4 separate regions of the Homo sapiens genome follow, and all the other regions are linked to region 1. Evidence: promoter capture Hi-C in human tissues and cell types (Jung and others, 2019). All regions are on one chromosome and are shown on one strand. Each heading gives the region's core, a stretch centred on a gene start or on the middle of the fragment in contact. The rest is flanking DNA. Distances are from core to core; before and after follow the strand shown.

What was found. Contacts are between HindIII fragments. The study calls those that stand out against the background at their distance.
Region 2: a fragment that was not itself captured here is called in contact with the fragment with the promoter of LGALS4 in region 1 in 1 of the 25 tissues and cell types used here (spleen).
Region 3: a fragment that was not itself captured here is called in contact with the fragment with the promoter of LGALS4 in region 1 in 1 of the 25 tissues and cell types used here (bladder).
Region 4: a fragment that was not itself captured here is called in contact with the fragment with the promoter of LGALS4 in region 1 in 2 of the 25 tissues and cell types used here (adrenal gland and lymphoblastoid cells).

Annotation. Positions count from the first base shown.
Region 1 is chr19:38,811,695-38,817,216 of GRCh38, forward strand. LGALS4 (galectin 4) reads right to left here and starts at 1,251. Exons shown (of 10, transcript NM_006149.4): 1 at 1,148-1,251; 2 at 737-825. The coding sequence starts at 1,192. ECH1 (enoyl-CoA hydratase 1) reads right to left here. Exons shown (of 10, transcript NM_001398.3): 6 at 5,371-5,435; 7 at 4,759-4,829; 8 at 4,590-4,661; 9 at 4,163-4,313; 10 at 3,728-4,023. The coding sequence ends at 3,919. RefSeq lists a silencer at 4,061-4,261. The HindIII fragment of the contact is 29,723 bases long and covers 1-5,522 here.
Region 2 is chr19:38,337,888-38,343,409 of GRCh38, forward strand. All of the region lies in intron 3 of CATSPERG (catsper channel auxiliary subunit gamma), which reads left to right. Among named protein-coding and RNA genes, the nearest start is that of CATSPERG, 4.8 kb to the left of the region's middle. RefSeq lists an enhancer at 5,458-5,522. The HindIII fragment of the contact is 4,605 bases long and covers 1,083-5,522 here.
Region 3 is chr19:38,518,198-38,523,719 of GRCh38, forward strand. RYR1 (ryanodine receptor 1) reads left to right here. Exons shown (of 106, transcript NM_000540.3): 67 at 1,017-1,257; 68 at 4,831-4,918; 69 at 5,020-5,112. Among named protein-coding and RNA genes, the nearest start is that of MAP4K1-AS1, 75 kb to the right of the region's middle. The HindIII fragment of the contact is 3,952 bases long and covers 2,297-5,522 here.
Region 4 is chr19:38,540,573-38,546,094 of GRCh38, forward strand. It overlaps RYR1 (ryanodine receptor 1), which reads left to right. Exons shown (of 106, transcript NM_000540.3): 85 at 2,775-2,863; 86 at 2,960-3,088; 87 at 3,199-3,303. Among named protein-coding and RNA genes, the nearest start is that of MAP4K1-AS1, 53 kb to the right of the region's middle. RefSeq lists enhancers at 3,621-3,680, 4,031-4,120. The HindIII fragment of the contact is 5,194 bases long and covers 512-5,522 here.

The DNA of each region.
Region 1 (5,522 bases), core at 1-2,500:
TCAACGTGTTAAGGCCCTTTTTAAAAAGCTAAGACTGGGCCAGGCGCAGTGGCTCACGCCTGTAATCCCAGCACTTTGGGAGGCCGAGATGGGAGGATCACTTGAGGTCAGGAGTTCGAGACCAGCCTGACCAACATGGTGAAACCCCATCTCTACTAAAAATACAAAAATTAGCCAGTGTGCTGGCACATGCCTGTAATCCCAGCTACTCAAGAGGCTGAGGCAGGAGAATCGCTTGAACCTGGGAGACAGAGGTTGCAGTGAGCCAAGATCATGCCATTGCACTCCAGCCTGGGCGACAAGAGCAAAACTCCATCTCAAAACAAAAAAAAAAACAAAAAAAACAAAAACAGAAAAGAAAAGAAAATGAAGCACAGAGAGGTATAGTCACTTTCACTCTTTCACCAACACAGAGCTGGGGAGTGGCAGAGCTGGGATTTTAACTCGGGGACCCGGCTCTGAGCCTGTGATCTGAATTCCTGCCATTGCACCCATCAGCTTCAGTCTAATGTCCAACTCAGGGACTGCCTCTCACGGTGAGCCCTCCCTGAACCTTCTGGCCCCCACGTCCCCACTCCTGATCTGCCCCAGATTCATCTCTGGCTATTGGGTGGGGCAGAAAAAGAGTCCCCTCTCCACCAGGGTGGGGTAAGGGCAGAAAGCCCCCAACAGCCAGGCCCAGAGCACCCAGTTGGAAGTCCCCTGCCAGCCCGGCCTGGCTTGGGGAGGGTCTTACCGCTTCATGTGCTCGCTGGCCACTCCTTGGATGTAAACAGACATTCCCACGTTGAGCCCGCCCGGGATGGGCTGGTAGTAAGGCAGCGTCTGGAGAAGAGGCCTGGTGAGGGGACTCACAAGCCATCTGCCTGTTGCAGCCTTTACCCCTCCCAGAAAAGCCCCCCAGTCCCTTAAGCAGGAGAGAGGAAACCATGGGGGAGGACCAGGTTGAAGATGACGAGGGCCAACAGTTAGACGTGGACACAGACAGCCTGAGGTCAGGGTAGGAGTAAATCGAGGGTCGGGGTCAGCTTTGGGTAAATCAGACCACAGAGTCAGATGGGGCCCCCCAGGATCAGAGTGGGGAAAATTGGTGTGAGGGCTTATGGACGGAGCTGCGGGCGGAGTGGGGCCTGAGCTGGCATCTCACCGGGTTGTAGGTGGGCTGGTAGCCCGGTGCGGGGACATAGGCCATCGCTCGAGGCTGCGCTAGTGGCTGGTCCTGTGAGAAGAGCTGCAGGAGTGGGAGATGGTGGCGGATGGCAGGCGGTGGTGGCTCTTATACCCAGGGTAAGGGAGTGGCTGGCAGGGGAGGGTCCACAGGGCTCCTCTTCTGGGACTCTCAGGCTGTCGGCTTCTCCTAGAGCGCACCCTAGTCTCCCTTCCCTTGCCAGCTTCCCTGGTGACCAGCCAGGACCCAAATCACCTGGGTCCCCTCCCCTACGCCCTCCTGCAAAGAGGAAGTGCTCATGAACTTCGGCCCTGCCAGGGCCTTATCAGAGCCCATAAAACCCTGCCCAGACTTCTGTTGGCAGAGGGAGGGTGAGACCAGGCAGGGCAGGGCAGGCTGCAGGAATGACCCAGGACAGGTGGGCAGCGGAGGAGGAGAACGCGGAGGAACTGCAAATTCCTGCCTCTCCCAGCAACTGTGAAGGGACCTACGTTGATTGCGTGCCCACCACACATCTTTACCACGTATGTTGTATTGTAGGGAGAGTGGTTTAGATTACTAGTGTGTGGAGCCAGAGGTTCTAGGTTCAAATCCTGCCTTTGCCACTTCTCAGCTGTATGATCATGGGTCAGTGCCTTACCCTCAATTTGCCCATGTGCTCATCTGTAAAATGGGGATATAGTAGTATCGGCTGGGTGCAGTGGCTCATGCCTGTAATCCCAGCACTTTGACTGGCCGAGGTGGATGGATCACCTGAGGGCAGGAGTTCGAGACCAGCCTGGCAAAATCCCAGTCTCTACTAAAAATACAAAAATTAGCCAGGCATGGTGGTGGGTGCCTATAATCCCATCTACTTGGAGGCTGAGGCAGGAGAATCACTTGAACCTGAGTGGAGGAGAGTGCAGTGAGCCAAGGTCACGCCACTGCACTCCAGCTTGGATGACAGATGGAGACTCTGTTTCAAAAAAAAAAAAAAAAAAAAAGGAATTCATAAGAGAGGAAACAAGTATTGAATAGCTATCAAAATATTTTAAAAATGAATTTGTGATCCAGTAATGCCTGTATGTTATTAATCTGCCAAATAAGTTCTAGCTGTGGGTCCAACTGCCACTCAGAAAAATAAATAAATAAAGAAAAGAGTAGTATCAACCTTAGGCTGGGTGTGGTGGCTTGTGCCTACAATCCCAGCAATTTGGGAAGCTGAAGCAGGAGGACTGCTTGAGCCCAGGAGTTCAAGACCAGCCTGGGCAACATAGTGAGACCCCCATCTCTACAAAAATAAAATAAAAATTAGCTGGGCATGGTAGCACACATCTGTATTCCTAGCTACTCAGAGGCTGAGGCAGGAGGATCGCTTGAACCCAGGAGTTAAGGTTACAGTGAGCTATGATCATGCCACTGCACTCCAGCCTGGGTGACAGACTAAGAGTCCGTCTCTAAAAATAGCAACAATAATAGTCATAATAATAATAATCATAATAGTATCAACTTCATAGAGTCCTTGATCATTAAGATAATAAATGCTCAGAACAGGACATAGCATATAGAAGTCATTAACTTAATGCTTGGTCTCTTGCAGTCATTCCAAACATAAATCCGGAAGATTGGGATGATATATGGATAAAAAATCCCAAAGTTTTGTTTGCTCATTTTTGAGACAGAGTCTTGCTCTATCACCCAGGCTGCAGTGCAGTGGCACCATCTCAGCTCACTGCAACCTCCACCTCCCAGGTTCAAGGGATTCTCCTGCCTCAGCCTTCTGAATAGCTGGGATTACAGGCTTACTCCACGCCTGGCTAATTTTTGTATTTTTAGTAGAGACCAGGTTTTGCCATGTTGGCCAGGCTGGTCTCAAACTCCTGACCTCAAGTGATCCACCTGCCTCAACCTCCCAAAGTGCTGGAATTACAGGCATGAGCCACTGCACCCGGCCAGAAACCCCAAAGTCCTTTTTTGTTTTGTTTTTTCTTTTTTTGAGACAGAGTCTCACTCTGTCACCCAGGCTGGACTGCAGCAGCATGATCTCAGCTCACTGCAAACTCACCTCCTGGGTTCAAGGATTCTCCTGCCTCAGCCTCCCGAGTAGCTGGGACTAGAGGCACCTGCCACCACACCTAGCTAATTTTTGTATTTTTAGTAGAGACTGGGTTTCAACATGTTGACTAGGCTGGTTGCAAACTCCTGAGCTCAGGCAATCCACCTGCGTCAGCCTCCAAAAGTGCTGGGATTACAGGTGTGAGACGCCAGCATCAGATCCCATGTGCTGTGCAGTGAGAGGTGCCAGGCAGGGCACGAACGCCACCCTCAACCCCAGGGCAGGCAGGGAGACCAGGAAGCCTTGCAACCCAGAGGGACCCCAGCGACTTTTGCTCACTCCCTCCGCCCCGGAATTCCTTGTGCCCCTCGCCTGCCCGCTGCCAGTCTGAATGGCCATCACCTCCATGCCACCCATTCCCATGCATCCAACCTCTAGCCCCAGCCTTCAGGACTGCAGTCTCTGGAGCCCCTAGGTGCATCCCAGCCCCTCCCACCTCTCCTCTATCCAAGAAGGGCACCAGGTTCTTTACTTTGCTTTATTGTTTGTGGGGTGAAGATAAGGCCTTGGGCTTGAGAAACTCATTGTCATAAAGTTATAAACTGGGAAACTGGGTCAGAAGGCATAGAAACAACTGTCATCGCCCATCCTCCCTTTCTGTGGATGAGGCGGGACAAGGCCGGCCCCCTGGCTGGGGCCTGGGACGCGAGGGCTCTCAGAGCTTGGAGAAGGTGACGGTTTTCAGTTCCTTGTTCTCAGTCGTGGCCTGGACCGACTTCACGAGGTCTTGGGTCTGCAGCATGCTCATGTTCCAGGACGCCTGGTACCGAGGGTGTTGAGAGAGAACGAGGAGAGAGATTAGCAGGGGCCAATCAGGATAAAGCATGAGAGCACCCTGCACCCTGGTTGGTCGCCTGGGGTTAGAGGAGGGCTGTGATTGGTCGGAGCGTGCACCTTACCACGTAGTTGAGGCTCTCGGCCACCGAATGGTCGCGGGAATACAGCAGGTTGACCTTGGTGCTCTGCACCGCCACGGGGCTCTTGCTGGAAATCTCGGCCGCCAGCGCTAAGGCAGCATCCAGCATGACCTCTTTGTCTGGGAACACCCGGCTGCAGTGAAAGAGATCAGGGACCGGGTGGGCTGGGAAGGGCTCTCTCCTCCAGCCTCCCGCAGATGAAGAAGTGGCCACTCACAGAGGAAGGCCCAAGACCCCAGAGAAACAGCCCAATCAGAGCAGGGGGCTGACCCCACAATAAAGAAATGAGCTCACCAAGAAAGGATGCCACTAGGAATTCTAGAGCGAGGAGACAAGGGGACCCGGAGAGGCCTCCAACCCTCCAGGCCTGGCTGCCCCCAGCACTGAGCTACCACGGCCATGGCCCTACCTGACCAGCCCACTGCCCAGGGCCTCGTCAGCCATCATCTTGCGGGCGGTGAAGGCCAGCTCGTTGACCAGGCTGCAAAGGCAAGCGTGCATCAGGAGGCGGCTGCCACCCCGGGGCTGGGAGATGCTCTGGGGTCTCCTGCCCACACCCCCACACCCCCTGCACCCACCTCTGGTTCCCGATGACCTTGGGCAGGCGCTGCAGTGTTCCTACATCGGCAGCCAAACCCACGTCCACCTCCTGGGGGAGGAATCGGGTCAGTGTTTGGTTTCTGCCCAATACTGTGCCCCTCGCAATGTCAACGTCCATGAAATTTCATGTCTACTGGAGAGTCCCGCCCCACCTTCACCCCAGTGACTTCCTCCAAAGTCCCATTCCATTGCCCAGGCAGCTTCTTGACTCAGGCAAGTTCCTTCAACCTAGAATAGAGCCCACCTTCCCACTCATGCACCCTCCCATTCCCTCAGGGCAGCTCCATCTGTGAGAGAGGAACCCTCCTCACCCTACCTGAGACCCCTTTACTGCATCCCCCGGCTCCATCCTGCCTCCCACCCTCACCAGTATGGCCCCAGGAGCAATCTCTGCCTCTGACACCTGCCAGCCTCAACCCCACCTCATACCTTACCCACTCACAACTTCACCTCTTGACTTCCTCTATGGGCAAGTCTTACTTTGTCGGGTTCAACTCCGACTCTTCCATGAAGCCCTCGAGGCTCACTCCAGGCCCCCCAACCTCACCCCACTGCCCAGCTCTAAGCAGGAGCTCGGGAGGATGACTCACCTTCACCTGGAAGAAAGCATCCTGGGCACAGTACCGGATGTCACAGGCGGTGACAAGGTCCACACCTAGGAGGTAGAGGCCAGGGATGCTGAATGACCACCAGAACCAACCCTGGCTCCCGGGAGGTGGGGCTGCCTCTTGGGACACAGTCT
Region 2 (5,522 bases), core at 2,135-4,634, 470 kb before region 1:
TTTGTATTTGGTAGAGACAGGGTTTCACCACGTTGCCCAGGCTGGTCTCAAACTCCTGACCTCATGTGATCCACCTGCCTCAGACTCCCAAAGTGCTGGGATTACAGGTGTGAGCCACCGTGCCTGGCCCCCATCTCAATATGTGGTAGCACCATCCAACCCTGGTGGCTTTAAGGATTCAAGAAGGCTGTCTGTGTACAGTTCCCAGTAACCCACCAAGCACCTAGTAGGTGCTCAAGTAAGCTTTTTTGTTCCATGTTTTTTTTGTTTTGTTTTGTTTTTGAGACGGAGTCTCGCTCCGCCCAGGCTGGATTGCAGTGGCGCGATCTCGGCTCACTGCAAGCTCCGCCTCCTGGGTTCACACCATTCTCCTGCCTCAGCCTCCCAAGTAGCTGGGACTACAGGCGCCTGCCACCACGCCCGGCTAATTTTTTGTATTTTTAGTAGAGATGGGGTTTCACCGGGTTAGCCAGGATGGTCTCGATCTCCTGACCTCGTGATCCGCCCGCCTCGGCCTCCTAGAGTGCTGGGATTACAGGCGTGAGCCACCTCACCCGGCCTTGTTCCAGGTTTTTAAAGCTATGAGTAGGAGTTTACCATATATATAATTCACACACCATAAAATTCACCATTGTTATTTTTGTTATTTTTCTGAGGCAGGGTCTCACTCTGTTACCCAGGCTGGAGTGCAATGGTGAAATCACAGCTCATTGCAGCCTTGACCTCCTGGGCTCAAGTGAACCTTCTGCATCAGCCTCTTGAATAGCTGGGACTAGTTGTGCGCCACCACACCAGCACGGGAGGATCACTTGCATCCAGAAGCTCAAGACTAGCCTAGGTGAATTTGGCTGGGCATGGTGGCTCCCACCTGTAGAAATGCTAAGGCAGGATCATCATAATGAGCCTAGGAGGTTGAGGCTGCAGGGAACTGTGATCATGCCACTACACTCCAGCCTGGGTGACAGAGTGAGACCCTGTCTTTGTTTTTATTAATTAATTAATTAATTTTTGAGATGGAGTCTCACTCTGTTGTTGGGGTGATCAGACCCAACACCAGGTCGGGGGGAGGGGGTGGCGACGAAGTCCGGCGGAGTCAAAGGATTGAGAAAAAGGCAGTTTGAGAGAGAGAAGTAAAGTGGGACCAGAGGGCCATTGCTAGTGTATGGAGGCTGCTAAAGCCCCGAGCTCTGGGAGCCCACGCTATTTATTGGTAATCCAACAAAGAAACAGGTGGTGAGAATGTGGAGGTCAAAAGGGCACATTGCATTAAGCACATGATTTACAGCTGTGATGGTTTAGCATTTGCTCTGCTGCTTGAGATAATGGAGAGCAGGTTCTTTTAACTCAAGATACAATCAATCCTGGGAGCGCAAGGAGCAAGCAAGTCTAGACACATTCCAGAGCCATGAGCCCTGGATTCTATCGAGGCCATGAGGGATTTTATGCCCTTGGCTTAGATTATGGTGCATGATGGTAGGCTTCCACCCTTTAGCACAGAGCTTGGTGTTCCAAAGGCCACAAGGGGTTTTAGACCCTGGACCCCGGACATGTTCCAAGACTCTTTTACATTATGTCAGACATGCAAGCCCTGCCTCAGCTTCTCCTAACACTCTGTCGCCCAGGCTGGAGTGCAGTGGCGCAATCTCGGCACACTGCAGTCTCTGCCTCCTGGGTTCTAAGCGATTCTCCTGCCTCAGCCTCCTGAGTAGCAGGAATTAAAGTTTTTAATTTTGGTGAAGCCCAGTTTATAAATTTTTTTCTTTTTTTTGCTTGTGTTTTTTGTGTCATTTACAAAGGCCTTGCGTAACTAAAGATCATGAAGACTTACTCATATTTTCTTCAAGAGATTTTTAGTTTTAGCTCTTACATTTAGGTCTTTCATCCATTTTGAGTTAATTTTTGTATATGGTGTGAGGTCCAAGCTTTTACACGTGCATATCCAGTTGTCCCAATGCCGTTTGGTGAGATTCTTCTTTTTTTTTTTTGAGACAAAATCTCATTCTGCCACCCAGGCTGGAGTGCAGTGGCGTGATCTTGGCTCACTGCAACCTCCCCCTCCCAGGTTCAAGCGATTCTCCTGCCTCAGCCTACTGAGTAGCAGGAATTACAGGCATGCGCCACCATGCCTGGCTAATTTTTATATTTTAGTAGAGACAGGGTTTCACCATGTTGGCCAGGCTGGTCTCGAACTCCTGACCTCAGGTGATCCACCTGCCTTGGCCTCCCAAAGTGCTGGGACTACAGGCGTGAGCCACCATGCCTGGCCTGTTGAGATTATTCTTTCCCCGCTGAATTGTCTTGGCACCTTTGTCAAAAATCAATTGAATATAAATATAAGGGTTTCTTTCTGGACTCAATTCTATTCTAAATGAATTGATTTCTCAATAATTCATTGCTCTAAATGCCTATTCATATGCCAGTATCACAGAGTCTTTTTTTTTTTCTTTTTTTGAGACAGGGTCTCACTCTGTCACCCAGGCTGGAGTACAGTGGCATGATCTCGGCTCAGTACAGCCTACACATTCTGGGTTCAAGCGATTCTCCTGCCTCAGCTGCCCAAGTAGCTGGGACTACAGATGTGCGCCACCACGCCCGGCTAATTTTGTATTTTTGGTAGAGATGGGGTTTCTCCATATTGGTCAGGCTGGTCTTGAACTCCTGACCTCAGGTGATCCACCTGCCTCGGCCTCCCAAAGTGCTGGGATTATAGATGTGAGCCACCGCGCCCGGCCAATAATTTTATTTTTTTAGAGACAGGGTCTTGCGCTGTCACCCAGGCTGAAATGCAGTGGCTTGATCATAGCTCATTGCAGCCTCGACCTCCTGGGCTGAAGTGATCCTCCTGCCTCAGCCTCCCAAGTAGCAGGGACTACAGGCTCAAGCCATCACACCAGTGTACTTTCAATTAGACAGGGTCTCACTATGTTGCCTAAGGCTGGCATGAAAGAATTTCTGAGAGTAGTATTAATAAATGCAAATAATAAAATGAGGTAATACGTTAGAAAGGAGGGGGGGGCACTGTTTTAGTGGGGGTCGTTGGAGAAGGTCACTCTGGAAAGGCTTGAGCAGAGACTCAAATGATAAAAAGTGGGGATTATTAGGAGAGCCAGGTAAAGCTTTCCAGGCCGAGGGAAGAGCCAGCACGATGGCCCAGAGGTAGGAAAGAGGTCAGCATGTGTGAGAAACTATGAAGAGGACTTTGTGGCTGGAGCAGAGTGAGTGAGAGGGAGTGTGGGAGGAGAGGTCAGGGAAGTGATGGGGGAAGGTTTTTGGGGCTTGATGGGCCATGGTGAGGACTTGGCTTTTACTCTGAGACAGAGCCTGAGAGGGCCCTATGCAGAGGAGGGATTGGATCTGATTCCAGGCTTCACTGGCTCCCTCCTGTTGTTGGGGGAGCAGGGCAGGAGCAGTGAGACAAGGAGGAGGCTGCTACATTGCCCAGGCAGGAGATGACGGGGACAGGACCAGGGTGTTAGTGGCTACTGTCATCCTCACAGGAAGGAGGTCCCTGCCCCACTAGCACCTTCTCCTCTGCAATGGGAACTCAGGCAGGGCCAGGGACAGGTGTAGTTGACAGGATTGAAAAGAGCCTGGTGCTGGGTGTGGTGGCTCATACCTATAATCCCAGCACTTTGGGAGGCCAGGGAGAGAAGATTGCTTGAGCCCAAGAATTCAAGACCAGCCTGGACAACATAGGGAGACCCTGTCTCTACAAAAAAAATCAAAAAATTGGGCCGGGCATAGTGGCTCATGCCTGTAATCCCAGCACTTTGGGAGGCCAGGGCAGGTGGATCACCTGAGTTCAGGAGTTCGAGACTAGCCTGACCAACATGGTGAAACCCCATCTCTACTAAAAATGCAAAAATTAGCCGGGCGTGGTGGCGCATGCCTGTAATCCCAGCTACTTGGGAGGCTGAGGCAGGACGATCGCCTGAACCTAGGAGGCAGAGGGTGCAATGAGCTGAGATGGCGCCCTTATACTCCAGCCTGGGCAACAAGTGCAAAACTCCGTCTCGGAAAAAAAATAAAAAATAAAAAAATTAGCCAGGCGTGGTAGTGGTACCTGTAGTCCCAGCTATTTGGGAGGCTGAGGTAAGAGGATTGCTGAAGTCTGGGAGAGGTGGAGGTTACAGTGAGCTGTGATGGCACCACTGCACTCCGGACTGGGCAACAGAGCAAGACCTTATCTTAAAAAAAAAAAAAAAAAGCCAGGTGCAGTGGCTTACACCTGTAATCCTAGCATTTTAGGAGGCTAAGGCTGGAGGATTGCTTGAGGCCAAGAGTTCAAGACCAACCTGGCCAACATAGCAAGACCCTGTCCCATGTAAAAAATAAATAAATAAATAAATAAATAAATAAATTACAGAAATAGCCAGCCTGGGCAACAGAGTAGACTCTGTCTCTACAAAAATTAAACAGTTTTCAAAGAAAGAATGGCCTGGTGGCTCATGCCTGTAATCCCAGCACTTTGGGAGGCCGAAGCGCGCAGATCAGTTGAGGTCAGGAGTTTGAGACCAGGCTGGCCAACGTGGTGAAACCTCATCTTTACTAAAAATACAAAAATTAGCTGGGCATGGTGGTGCACGTGTGTAGTCCCAGCTACTCAGGAGGCTGAGGCAGGAGAATCACTTGAACCCAGGAGACAGAGGCTGCAGTGAGTCGAGATCATGCCACTGCACTGTAGCCTGGGCGACAGAGTGAGACTCCTTCTTGAAAAAAAAAAAAAAAAGGAAAAGAAAGGAGCCTGGCAAAGAAAGTAAAGAAAGTCAGCCCTCTCGATGAAGGGCTGTGCACAGGTGCTGAATCTGGTAAATCCCTCGCCCTGGTCCCACAGCAACCAAGGCCTCCCCTTGGTGGCCTGAGTGCCGCCTTCTCTCGGGGACGCCTCTTAGCCTTCACTGGTGCTGTTCTGCATGCCTGAAACATCCTTCTCCTCTTCTCCCATCTCCACTCTAAGCGCTCCCCACCCTTTTCTATTCAGCCAGGATCCCGCATCCCTGGGAGGTTGTCCAGGCATGCCCTGTCACCCTCGTCCTCAGTCCCTTCCTGTGTAATCGCCCCATCCTACACTCACCCCAAGCTCAAGGCCCAGAACTTGGCTGTCCTCTGACTTGCATAGGTGGCAGAAAGTCTGCTGCAGAGAGGGTGGAAGCCCACCTCAAGAGTGAGACTGGGGGCCAGATGAGATGGCTCACGCCTTTAATGCCAGCACTTTGGGAGGCCAAGGTGGGAGGCTCACTTGAGACCAGGAGTTCAAGACCAGCCTGGGCAATCTAATTTTTTTTTTTTAAGCCTGGAACTGGGAATCCCTGGAGTGGAAAGCAGCACCCTGGGTGCCACATCCCTCCCACCTTCCCAGCATCCCTCCCACCTGCACAGTTTTGTTCATCCCATGCTGCCCTTCCCTATGTATTCCCTACATGCACATTCTGTCTGCAGACACTGGCTCTGGAGTCATCTCCTCCAGGAAGGCCTCCGACTCCCTCCACAGCCCCTTACCCCTCTGCCCCCTCCTAGGCTGT
Region 3 (5,522 bases), core at 3,023-5,522, 290 kb before region 1:
AGGAAGGAAGGCAGGAAGGAAGGAAGGAAGAAATGGATCCTCAAAGCGTTAGGTTTCCTGATTCAGAAGTTTCATGTCAGGGCCAGGCACAATGGCTCATGCCTGTAATCCCAGCACTTTGAGAGGCCAAGGTGGGTGGATCACTTGAGACCAGGAGTTCAAGACTAGCCTGGGCAACATGGTGAAACCTCGTCTCTATTATTTAAAAAAAAAAAAAAAAAAAAAAGAAATATTTGTGTAAGGAAACAGGTTGTAGATCAGGGTCAACCTAGAAATCAGGAGCTGGGATCAGAGGCCAGGGTAAGGGGCCAGAGGCTGGGGTAAGAAGCCCATTCACAACCTTGGGGTCATAGCCAGAAATCACATAGTGAGGTAAGACTCTGGGTATGGGCCAGGTCAGAGGTTAAAGATTGGGGTCAGGGGTCATGCTAGTTAAGGGTGAGGTAACAGGCCAGGTGCAGTGGCTCACGCCTGTAATCCCAGCACTATGGGAGGCCGAGGCGGGTGGATCTCCTGAGGTCAGGAGTTCGAGACCAGCCTGGCCAACATGGTGAAACCCCATCTCTACCAAAAATACAAAAGTTAGCTGGGTGTGGTGGCAGACGCCTGTAATCCCAGCTACTCGGGGCTGAGGCAGGAAAATCGCTTGAACTCGGGAGGCAGAGGTTGCAGTGAGCCAAGATTGCGCCATTGCACTCCAGTCTGGGTGACAAGAGTGAAACTCTGTCTCAAAAAAAAAAAAAAAGTTAGGTAACAGGTGAGGCGTCTGTTGTTGGGGGTCAGAGGTCAGGGATTTGTGCCAGGCTGGGGTCACAGGATAGGGACTGGGTCTTAGGTTCAGGTTAGGGGCTATGGCTGGGATCAGTGTTCAGGGACTATATCCAAGGTTAGGGTCAGGCTGGGGTCAAATGGCAGCTGCTAGGTTGGAGATGCTGTTTGGGAGTCGGGCTGGGAACGGAGTTTGGGGCCTGTGTCAGAGGCCGGAGGTGGCATCAGAGCCCATCGCACCCCTGCAGTGTTCGCACAGCCCATTGTGAGCCGTGCACGGCCGGAGCTCCTGCAGTCCCACTTCATCCCAACTATCGGGCGGCTGCGCAAGAGGGCAGGGAAGGTGGTGTCCGAGGAGGAGCAGCTGCGCCTGGAGGCCAAGGCGGAGGCCCAGGAGGGCGAGCTGCTGGTGCGGGACGAGTTCTCTGTGCTCTGCCGGGACCTCTACGCCCTGTATCCGCTGCTCATCCGCTACGTGGACAACAACAGGTCAGCGGGGCCCCGCTGTCCCCATGCCCTCCGCCCCGACCTCCCACGTCCTCCAGCCCCATCTGATCTCCGCCTCCTGACTGGCTAGAAACTTCTTCCAATGCTCTGGCCCCACCAACCTTCTGACTCTTCCTCCTGGTTTCTTCTGGCTTTGAGCACATTGGTCCAACGACAGCCAGCCCACTTGTTTGTTTCTTTTTGTTTTTGGTTTTTGGGTTTTTTTTTGTTTGTTTTTGTTTTTGGAGACAGAGCCTCGCTTTATTGCCCAGGCTGGAATGCAGTGGCGCGATCTCGGCTCACTGTAACCTCCACCTCCCGGGTTCAAGTGATTCTCCTGCCTCAGCCTTCCCAGTAGCTAGGATTACAGGTGCATGCCACCACGCCCAGCTAAGTTTCGTATTTTTAGTAGAGACAGATTTTCACCATGTTGGCCAGGCTGGTCTTGAACTCTTGACCTCATGATTTGCCTGCCTCGGCCTCCCAAAGTGCTGGGATTACAGCTGTGAGCCAATGCAGCTGGCCAGTGTGATTTTTTTTAAATCATTCTCCTAATGCTGGACATTTAGATTGTGTCGATTTCTTTGTCACTATGCACAACACCGTAAGGAATAGTTTGCTTTTTTTTTTTTTTTTTTTATTGAGACAGGGTCTCTCTCTGTTGCCCAGGCTGGAGTGCTGTGGCATGATCATGGCTTGCTGCAGCCTCGGTTCCTGGGTTCAAGCGATCCTCTGCTTCTGCCCCTGAGTAGCTGGGATTATAGACTCACACCAACATGCTCGGCTAATTCTTGTATTTTTATGGGGTCTCACTATGTTGCCCAGGTTGGTCTTGAATTCCCGGGGTCAAGTGATCCTCCCACCTCAGCCTCCCAAAGTGTTGGGATTACAGAAGTGAGCCACCACACTTAGCTGCTTTTTTTTTTTTTTTAACACAACAATACACCATGAAAGACATATAGGCCGGGTGTGGTGGCTCATGCCTGTAATCCCAGCACTTTGGGAGGCCGAGGTGGGCAGATCACCTGAGGTCAGGTGTTTGAGACCAGCCTGGCCAACGTGGCGAAACCCTGTCTCTATTATGAATACAAAAATTAGCCAGGCGTAGTGACGCAGGCTTGAAATCCCAGCTACTCCAGAGGCTGAAGCAGGAGAATCGCCTGAGCCTGGGAGGCAGAGGTTGCACTGAGCTGAGATCGTGTCACTGCACTCCAGCCTAGGAACAGAGCGAGGCTCCACCTCAAAAAAAAAAAAAAAAAAAAAAAAAAGATGTATAGATTCACCTCTTTTGTCTTGGTGGTCGTGTGACATTCTCTGCTGTTGGATATAGTTCAATTTTTCAATCAGTAAATATGAACAAATTGTGGTTTATTCATACAACAGAAGACTCCACGGCAGTGGGAGTGAACAAGTTGTTTCTATGCACAATGTGATTGGCTTTCACAAATGTTAGGTGGAATGAAAGAAGCCAGAAAACCAAGAAATAAACTACATATTTTACCATCTGTTTAATGTTCACGAGCAGATAAGAATAAGTTTGGGGCCGGGTGCAGTGGCTTACAACTGTAATCCCAGCACTTTGAGAGACTGAGGCGGGAGGATCACTTGAGCTCAGGAATTTGAGACCAGCCTAGGCAACATGGCTAGACCCTGTCTCTACAAAAAAAGAAAAGAAATACAAAAATTAGTCAGGCATGGTGACACACACCTGTAGTCCTTGCCTCAGGCTGGGACTGGGAGGCTGAGGTGGGAGGATCGTTTGAGCCCAGGAGGTCAAAGCTGCAGTGAGCTATGATCACACCGCTGCACTCCAACCTGGGCAACAGAGATAGACCCTGTCTCAATAAGGTTTGTTTTTTTTTAATACAAGTAAATGAATAAAATAAAATATGTGAACCTACTTAGATTCTGACCCTGTCTCAAAAAAAAAAGAAATTTTATGCTGGGTGCAGTGGCTCGTGACTGTAATCCCAGCACTTTGGGTGGCCAAAGAGAGTGGATCACTCAAACTCAGTCTCAAACTCAGAAGTTTGAGACCAGCCTGGGCAACATGCAAAAACCCTGTCTCTACTGAAAATACAAAAATTAGCCGGGCGTGGTGGCGCATACCTGTAGTCCCAGCTAAGTACTCCTGAGTGGGAGGCTGAGGCAGGAGAATCACTTGGAACCTGGGAGGCAGAAGTTGCAGTGAGCTGAGATCACACCACTGCACTCCAGCCTGGGCGACAGAGCGAGACCCTGTCTCAAAAAAGAAAAAAAGAAAATTTTTTTTTTTTTTTTTGAGATGGAGTCTCGCCCAGGCTGGGGTGCAGTGGTGCGATCTCTGCTCACTGCAAGCTCCACCTCCCGGGTTCACGCCATTCTCCTGCCTCAGCCTCCTGAGTAGCTGGGACCACAGGTGCCTGCCACCACACCCGGCTAATTTTTTTGTATTTTTTAGTAGAGATGAGGTTTCACCGTGTTAGCCAGGATGGTCTCGATCTCCTGACCTCGTGATCTGCCCGCCTCGGCCTCCCAAAGTGCTGGGATTACAGGCATGAGCCACTGCGCCCAGCTGAAAGAAAAAATTTTAAAAAGTTTTTAGCCTAGAAGTTAGAATATGGATGATTTTTCAGGAGGAGGAAGGGGGAGTGGCTGGGAGGGGCCATGATAGTACTTCCAGGGACCAGAAATGTCCTATTTCTTGACTTCGGTGCTGGCTACACAAGTGTGTTCATTTGTGATAATTCACCAGGTTGATATTTCTTAATATGTAGGTTATATAATACATATGTATGTATCATGTGTGTCTATGTATTGCATGCATGTATTATATTTATGTATTTCGATGAAAAGGTTAGACAAAGTTTTTTAAAAAAGGAATAGTCAGGCCAGGGAAGGTGGCTCACACCTGTAATCCCAGCACTTTGAGAGGTCAGGGAAAGAGGATCTCTTGAGCCCAGGAGTTCAAGACCAGCCTGGACAACCTAGGGAGACCCTCTTCCTACAAAAAATAAAATAAAACATTAGCCAGGCCTGGGCATGGTGACGTGCACCTGTAGTCCCAGCTACTCAGGGAGGCTGAAGTGGGAGGATCACTTAAGCCTGGGAGGTTGAGGTTGCAGTGAGTGGAGATCGCATCACTGTACTCCAGCCTGACAGATTGAGACCCTGTCTCAGAAAGAAAGAAAGAGAGAGAGAGAGAGAGAATGGATCGTTAAAAAATTTTAAATGTTCAGCTGGGCACAGTGGCTTACACCTGTAATCCCAGCACTTTGGGAGGCCGAGGTGGGTGGATCACGTAAGGTCAAGAGTTCAAGACCAGCGTGCCCAACATGGTGAAACCCCGTCTCTACTAAAAATACAAAAATTAGCCCGGTGTGGTGTCGGGCCCCTGTAGTCCCAGCTACTCGGGAGGCTGAGACAGAGAAAAAAAATTTTTTTAATGTTCATCTGCATGGCCAGATGACCCTAGAAACCCCATCCCTCTGACTGGATGTCTCCTGGTCCCCATCTCCTCCTCCAAGATCTCTCTCTGGGCAGCCCCCTTCCCTGGGATCCCCACCCCCTCCCTCACCTCCCCTCCGCTGACCCCAGGGCGCAGTGGCTGACGGAGCCGAATCCCAGCGCGGAGGAGCTGTTCAGGATGGTGGGCGAGATCTTCATCTACTGGTCCAAGTCCCACGTGAGTGCCCACCCCAACCGCCCTCCCCACAACCAGAGGAGCCGCAGCCCACAGGCGCCTGCCTTCACCTGTCCGGTCTGCAACACTGCTTCCCCCACCAGAACTTCAAGCGCGAGGAGCAGAACTTTGTGGTCCAGAATGAGATCAACAACATGTCCTTCCTGACTGCTGACAACAAAAGCAAAATGGCTAAGGTCGGGGCTTGGTTCTGGGAGGAGCACTTGGCAGAGAGGGCGGGAGCACCCTCTAGGACTTCCTACCTGGCCTGTCCTCACCCAGCCAGCCCGTCCTGGGCGCAATCCCTGCAGTCCTCAGAGCAGCCCCTCTTACCTCCTCTCCCTCTCCCTTCCTCCCCAGCTCCTTCCTCCTCCTGTATCTTCTCCCTCCTCCCATCTCCCTCCTCCTCTCCATCTCCCTCTTCTCTCATCTCTGTCTCCTTCCTCCTCCTGTATCTTCTCCCTCCTCCCATTTCCCTCCTCTCCATTTTCCTCTTCTCCAAGCCTCTCTCTCCTCCCATTTCCCTCCTCCTCCTCCTCCCCATTTTCCCCCTCTTCCATTTCTTTCTTCCTCTCCCCATTACCCCATTTCCTGCTTTCCTCCCTAT
Region 4 (5,522 bases), core at 1,859-4,358, 270 kb before region 1:
GTAATAAATCTCCAATCATATACTACAGTGTAATAAACCTCCAATCATATACTACAGTGTAATAAACCTCCAATCATATACTACAGTGTAATAAACCTCCAATCATATACTACAGTGTAATAAACCTCCAATCATATACTACAGTGTAATAAACCTCCAATCATATACTACAGTGTAATAAACCTCCAATCATATACTACAGTGTAATAAACCTCCAATCATATACTAAAGTGTAATAAACCTCCAATCATATACTACAGTGTAATAAACCTCCAATCATATACTACAGTGTAATAAACCTCCAATCATATACTACAGTGTAATAAACCTCCAATCATATACTACAGTGTAATAAACCTCCAATCATATACTACAGTGTAATAAACCTCCAATCATATATTACAGTATAATAAACCCCCAACTACCCATCACTCAGCTTTAACAGTTTGCTTTCACAGAACAATGTTTTTTAAATAGTGGGAACCAACCCATCAGACAGACGTTCATGAATCAGTTTCACGCAGAGGTTCTCATTGTAATTGTACACTGGCATGCCTGGGGAGCTTTAAAAGAGACTTAAGCCCAGGTTTTGCCTTTACAGGTTCTAATTCAATTGATCTGGGGTTGGGCCTGAGCACTGGGGTTTTTAAAAGCCTCCTAGTTGTCCTGATGTGCAGCCAAGGTTGAGAGGATGAGAAGCACACACTTCTTCTTTTGTAGTTAACTAGAGCAGTACAGGACAGAAAAGAACAGAATGCATGGCACAGAGTAAGGCAATGTGAAACTTCTCTTTCGGGAATAGGTGAATATAATTTCAGATTGAACACATGTATCAGGTCTCAATGTAAAAAGGATTTCCTCGGCTGGGTGTGGTGGCTTACACCTGTAATCCCAGCACTTTGGGAGGCCGAGGCAGGTGGATCACAAGGTCAGGAGTTGGAGACCAGCCTGTCCAATATGGTGAAACCCTGTCTCTACTAAAAATGCAAAAAAATTAGCCGGGCGTGGTGGCGCATGCCTGTAATCCCAGCTACTCAGGAGGCTGAGGCAGGAGAATTGCTTGAACCTGGGAGGCAGAGTTTGCAGTGAACTGAGATCATGCCACTGCACTCCAGCCTGGGTGACAGAGCAAGACTGTATCTCAAAAAAAAAAGGATTTCCTACCATAGATTGCAGTCAGAAAAGATTAAAAAATTACTGCACAAGAATATAAACTTCACAAGGGCAGGGGCTGGACATACGGCTCATGTCTGTAATCCCAGCACTATGGGAGGTCAAGGTAGGAGGGTTGCTTGAGGCCAGGAGTTCGAGACCAGCCTGGGCTGGTCTCAACAAAAAAATTAAAAATTGGCCGGATGTGGTGGCTCACACCTATAGTTCCAGCTACCTGGGAGGCTGAGGTGGGAGGACCACTTGAACCCAGGAGGTCAAGGCTGCAGTGAGCTATGATCATGCCACAGTACTCCAACCTAGGCAACAGAGGGAGACCTTGTCAAAAAAAAAAAAAAATCCCCCCCAAGGCCGGGGACTGTTTTTTTTTTTTTTACTACTGTATCCCCAGAGCCTAGAATACTGCATGACACATAGTAAGAACGCAACAAATTTGTTGTAGCAAAGAGGATGTGACAATCTTAATCTCGTGAGGATGTAGTATACACTCAATAAAATATGTTGAATAAATGAACAAGTGACCAATCCATATGTTCCCTGGCCTTTAGTAGGTGCTCAATAAATATTTGTTGGATAAATGCATGAATATCCCCAGCACATAGGAGGAATTTGATAAAATTGTTTGGAAACTAACGAGGAACTGAATCTCTATTTCTCCCTGCTACATAGTTGGTGGTCAATATACAAATTTGTTGGAAAAAACTGAATGAATAAATGACGCTCCACCACATTTGACACATAGCAGGCCCTCAATAATATTTATATTTTATTTTTTTATATTTATTTATTTTTTGAGACGGAGTTTCACTCTTGTTGCCCAAGCTGGAGTGCAGTGGCATGATCTAGGCTCACTGCAACCTCTGCCTTCCGGGTTCAAGCAATTCTCCTGCCTCAGCCTCCCAGGTAGCTGGGATTACAGGCACATGCCACCACACCTGGCTAATTTTGTATTTTTTTTAGTAGAGACGGGATTTCACCATGTTGGCCAGGCTGGTCTCAAACTCCTGACCTCAAGTGATCCACCCACCTGGGCCTCCCAAAGTGCTGGGATTACAGGTGTGAGCCACCGCTCCCAGCCTATTTTAAAATTATTTATTTATTTATTTATTTATTTTTGAGACGGGGTTTCCATCTTGTTGCCCAGGCTGGACTGCAATGGTGAGATCTCCACTCACTGCAACCTCTGCCTCCGGGGTTGAAGCGATTCTCCTGCCTCAGCCTCCCAAGTAGTTAGGATTGCAGGTGCCCACCACCACACCCAGCTAATTTTTGTATTTTTAGTAGAGACGGGGTTTCACCATGTTGGTCAGGCTGGTCTCAAACTCCTGACCTCAGGTGATCTGCCTGCCTGGGCCTCCCAAAGTGCTGGAATTACAGGCGTGAGCCACCCGGCCAGTATTTTTAGACAAATGAATAAATGATCATCCATCTTTCTCTGTCACATAGTAAGTACTTGATAGTTATTAAATAAATTGATGATGATATGCTTTCTGGCATACAATAGGAACTCAACACATGAGTATTGCATAAATGAATAAATGACCCACTGTTCATCTCCCCTAGCACATGGGAGGTGCTGGATAAATGACTTTTCATCTCCCCAGATTTCCAGAACTACCTACGGACACAGACAGGGAACACGACCACTATTAACATCATCATTTGCACTGTGGACTACCTCCTGCGGCTGCAGGTGAGGACGTGAGACGGTTCAGGTGTGACTTGGGTCGGGGGCTGCAGGGCCATGGTCGGCCCCAGCACCCCCTCACACCCTACCCGCCCCCACCAGGAATCCATCAGCGACTTCTACTGGTACTACTCGGGCAAGGATGTCATTGAAGAGCAGGGCAAGAGGAACTTCTCCAAAGCCATGTCGGTGGCTAAGCAGGTGTTCAACAGCCTCACTGAGTACATCCAGGTAGGGCGCTCCCCCTGGGGCGGGAGTGGGAAGGGAGGGGGTCCCGCATCGTGATCCCTGATCCCTTCTCGGGGATTCCCTTCCCCCCCACACGGCACTCTGCCTCCCAGGGTCCCTGCACCGGGAACCAGCAGAGCCTGGCGCACAGTCGCCTATGGGACGCAGTGGTGGGATTCCTGCACGTGTTCGCCCACATGATGATGAAGCTCGCTCAGGTTCGAGCCCCTCTGGTCTCCATCCACCTGCTTCCGGGCGTCCCCCAAGTGGTCCATTTCCAAGTCTTGCCCCTTTGGTCAGTTTGTCACCCGAGTGCTCCCGGCATGTTCCAGACTGGTTCCCTCTCAGTGGCCAAATCCATCCTCTTTCTGGATTGGCTGTCTGCATGACCCCGCCTCCTCCTCTGCCCCTCCCTCCCCACCAATCAGCTGGTTTTCCATCCACGCTTCCATTGGTCTGACGTGTTGGCCCCGTCCCAATGGCCGGAGCTCCTCTATGATTGATTGCTGTTTTTCTCTCTGATGAGTCATCGCAGATGTGGACAGTCCTTGGGCTAGGATGGGGCTGGTTTCTAGATTAGAGCCTGGGGCTGAGGAAATGTTTTGCTTCTTTATCTTACTTGCGGCAGATGACACCCATATCAGGCATTCATGATGTAAGGTCCCTGTTGAGCACCACCTTCCATTTCCATAATCCTTGTTCCTCTTTCCCTCACCCCTTTGCAGCCTTGCCAATGTCTCACGAACACTTAATCCATTTGCTCTGCTTCTGTCTGGTAACTATATTCAAGGCTGCCATATACTGTTCCGCAGGTCGTGCACTGCACAAAGGCACGATCTCTGAGAGCATTCACATCCTACACATAATGGTGTATTTATTACAATAGTTTAGTTTTCCAGCAGATGGCAGTAAAGCATCCAGCATGTTATAACTTCCCTACAGGAAGTGTTTTAGGGGACGCCTTTTTTTCTAATTTGCTCAAAGGTGCCCCAGGGGCTGGCAGAAACCCTAATTCGTTGTCATCTGACTTTTTAAAAGGAGTTAAACTTAGAATGCAATTCCTCCGTGTCACAGCAGCTGAAGTTGTGCTGTTGGTATCCTAAAATTCTAGAGAGTGTTGGTATCATCATGTAGAATTCCAAATCCTGCAGGGCTAATTCATCCGCCACCATCTAGTCTAGGTTGCAAAAGCTAGAAATCCAGTGCAAAGTGGTGGCTTAAGAAAAATAAAGAATTTATCAGTTCATATTACAGATCCAGGGCTTAGAGTGATGTCAGCAGAACTGCCTCCTCTTTGACTGCATTTGCAAGCAGGCTGTCTCCCTGGGCTGGAAAAAATGGTGCCTCAGGCTCCTATCCACTCTACTTCTTAACAGCCCTAGAGGGAAGAGATCTCCTCTTTCCTGAAAGCTCCAAGAAAAAAAAAAACCTGAGATTCTCTCTGACTAGCCTATTGGGTCACATGTCCCTCCCTGAACCAATCATCATAGGCTTAGGAAAGAAAGCTTTGACTGACCAGGCCCGGTCATATACCCACCTATAGAACCAGGAGGTAGGGTTAGCCCCATGTGCTCTGACTGTGGGATGGGGGACTCCGCAGGTGAAAATTGAGGGATTGTAAAGAGAGGAGGGGGACTGAATCATGGGTAGGCACAAACCACAGGCGCCCACCCACTGTAAGATCTTGAGATTAGGAGTGTCGGGACCTTAGGCGCAGAATGCAGAGCTTTGGAACTGTGGAAATACATTAGGATTGGAATCAACAACTGATAGAACTAGCATGGGAGCAAAAGATCCTTACATCCCATTTATCTGGTATCATCTCCTCCCCTCTCCATTTTATTTGGTGGAACCATATGAAATTACCACTTTGGATCTGGCACGGTGGCTCATACCTGTAATCCCAGCACTCTGGGAGCCCTAGGCGGGCAGATCACCTGAGGTCAGGAGTTCGAGACCAGCCTCACCAACATGGAGAAACCCCATCTCTGTTAAAAGTAAAAAATTAGCTGGGTATGGTGGCGCATGCCTGTAATCCAGCTACTCGAGAGGCTTAGGCAGGGGAATTGCTTGAACCTGGGAGGCAGAAGTTGCAGTGAGCCGAGATTGCGCCATTACATTCCGGCCTGGGCAACAAGAGCAAAACTCTGTCTCAAAAAGAAAGAAATTACCACTTTGTGAGCCAAAAGTGATCACATGTTGGCAATTTTATGTGACTCAACCTAACATAAATAGGGGCCATGAGGCAAAACTTTGTATTGGAGGTTTCTATGGGCCCTACACTGTGGCCCTATGTTCCCCGCAGACGGCTTACCAGAAAGCACATGGCTGTCTCTGCAGCCTTCCTCCTGAACCCAGAGTCCCACTCTTGCCATCACACATTATATTCAACATACATCTGTCAATCCCACCGTAGGCCAGGCACAGTGCTGGGCTC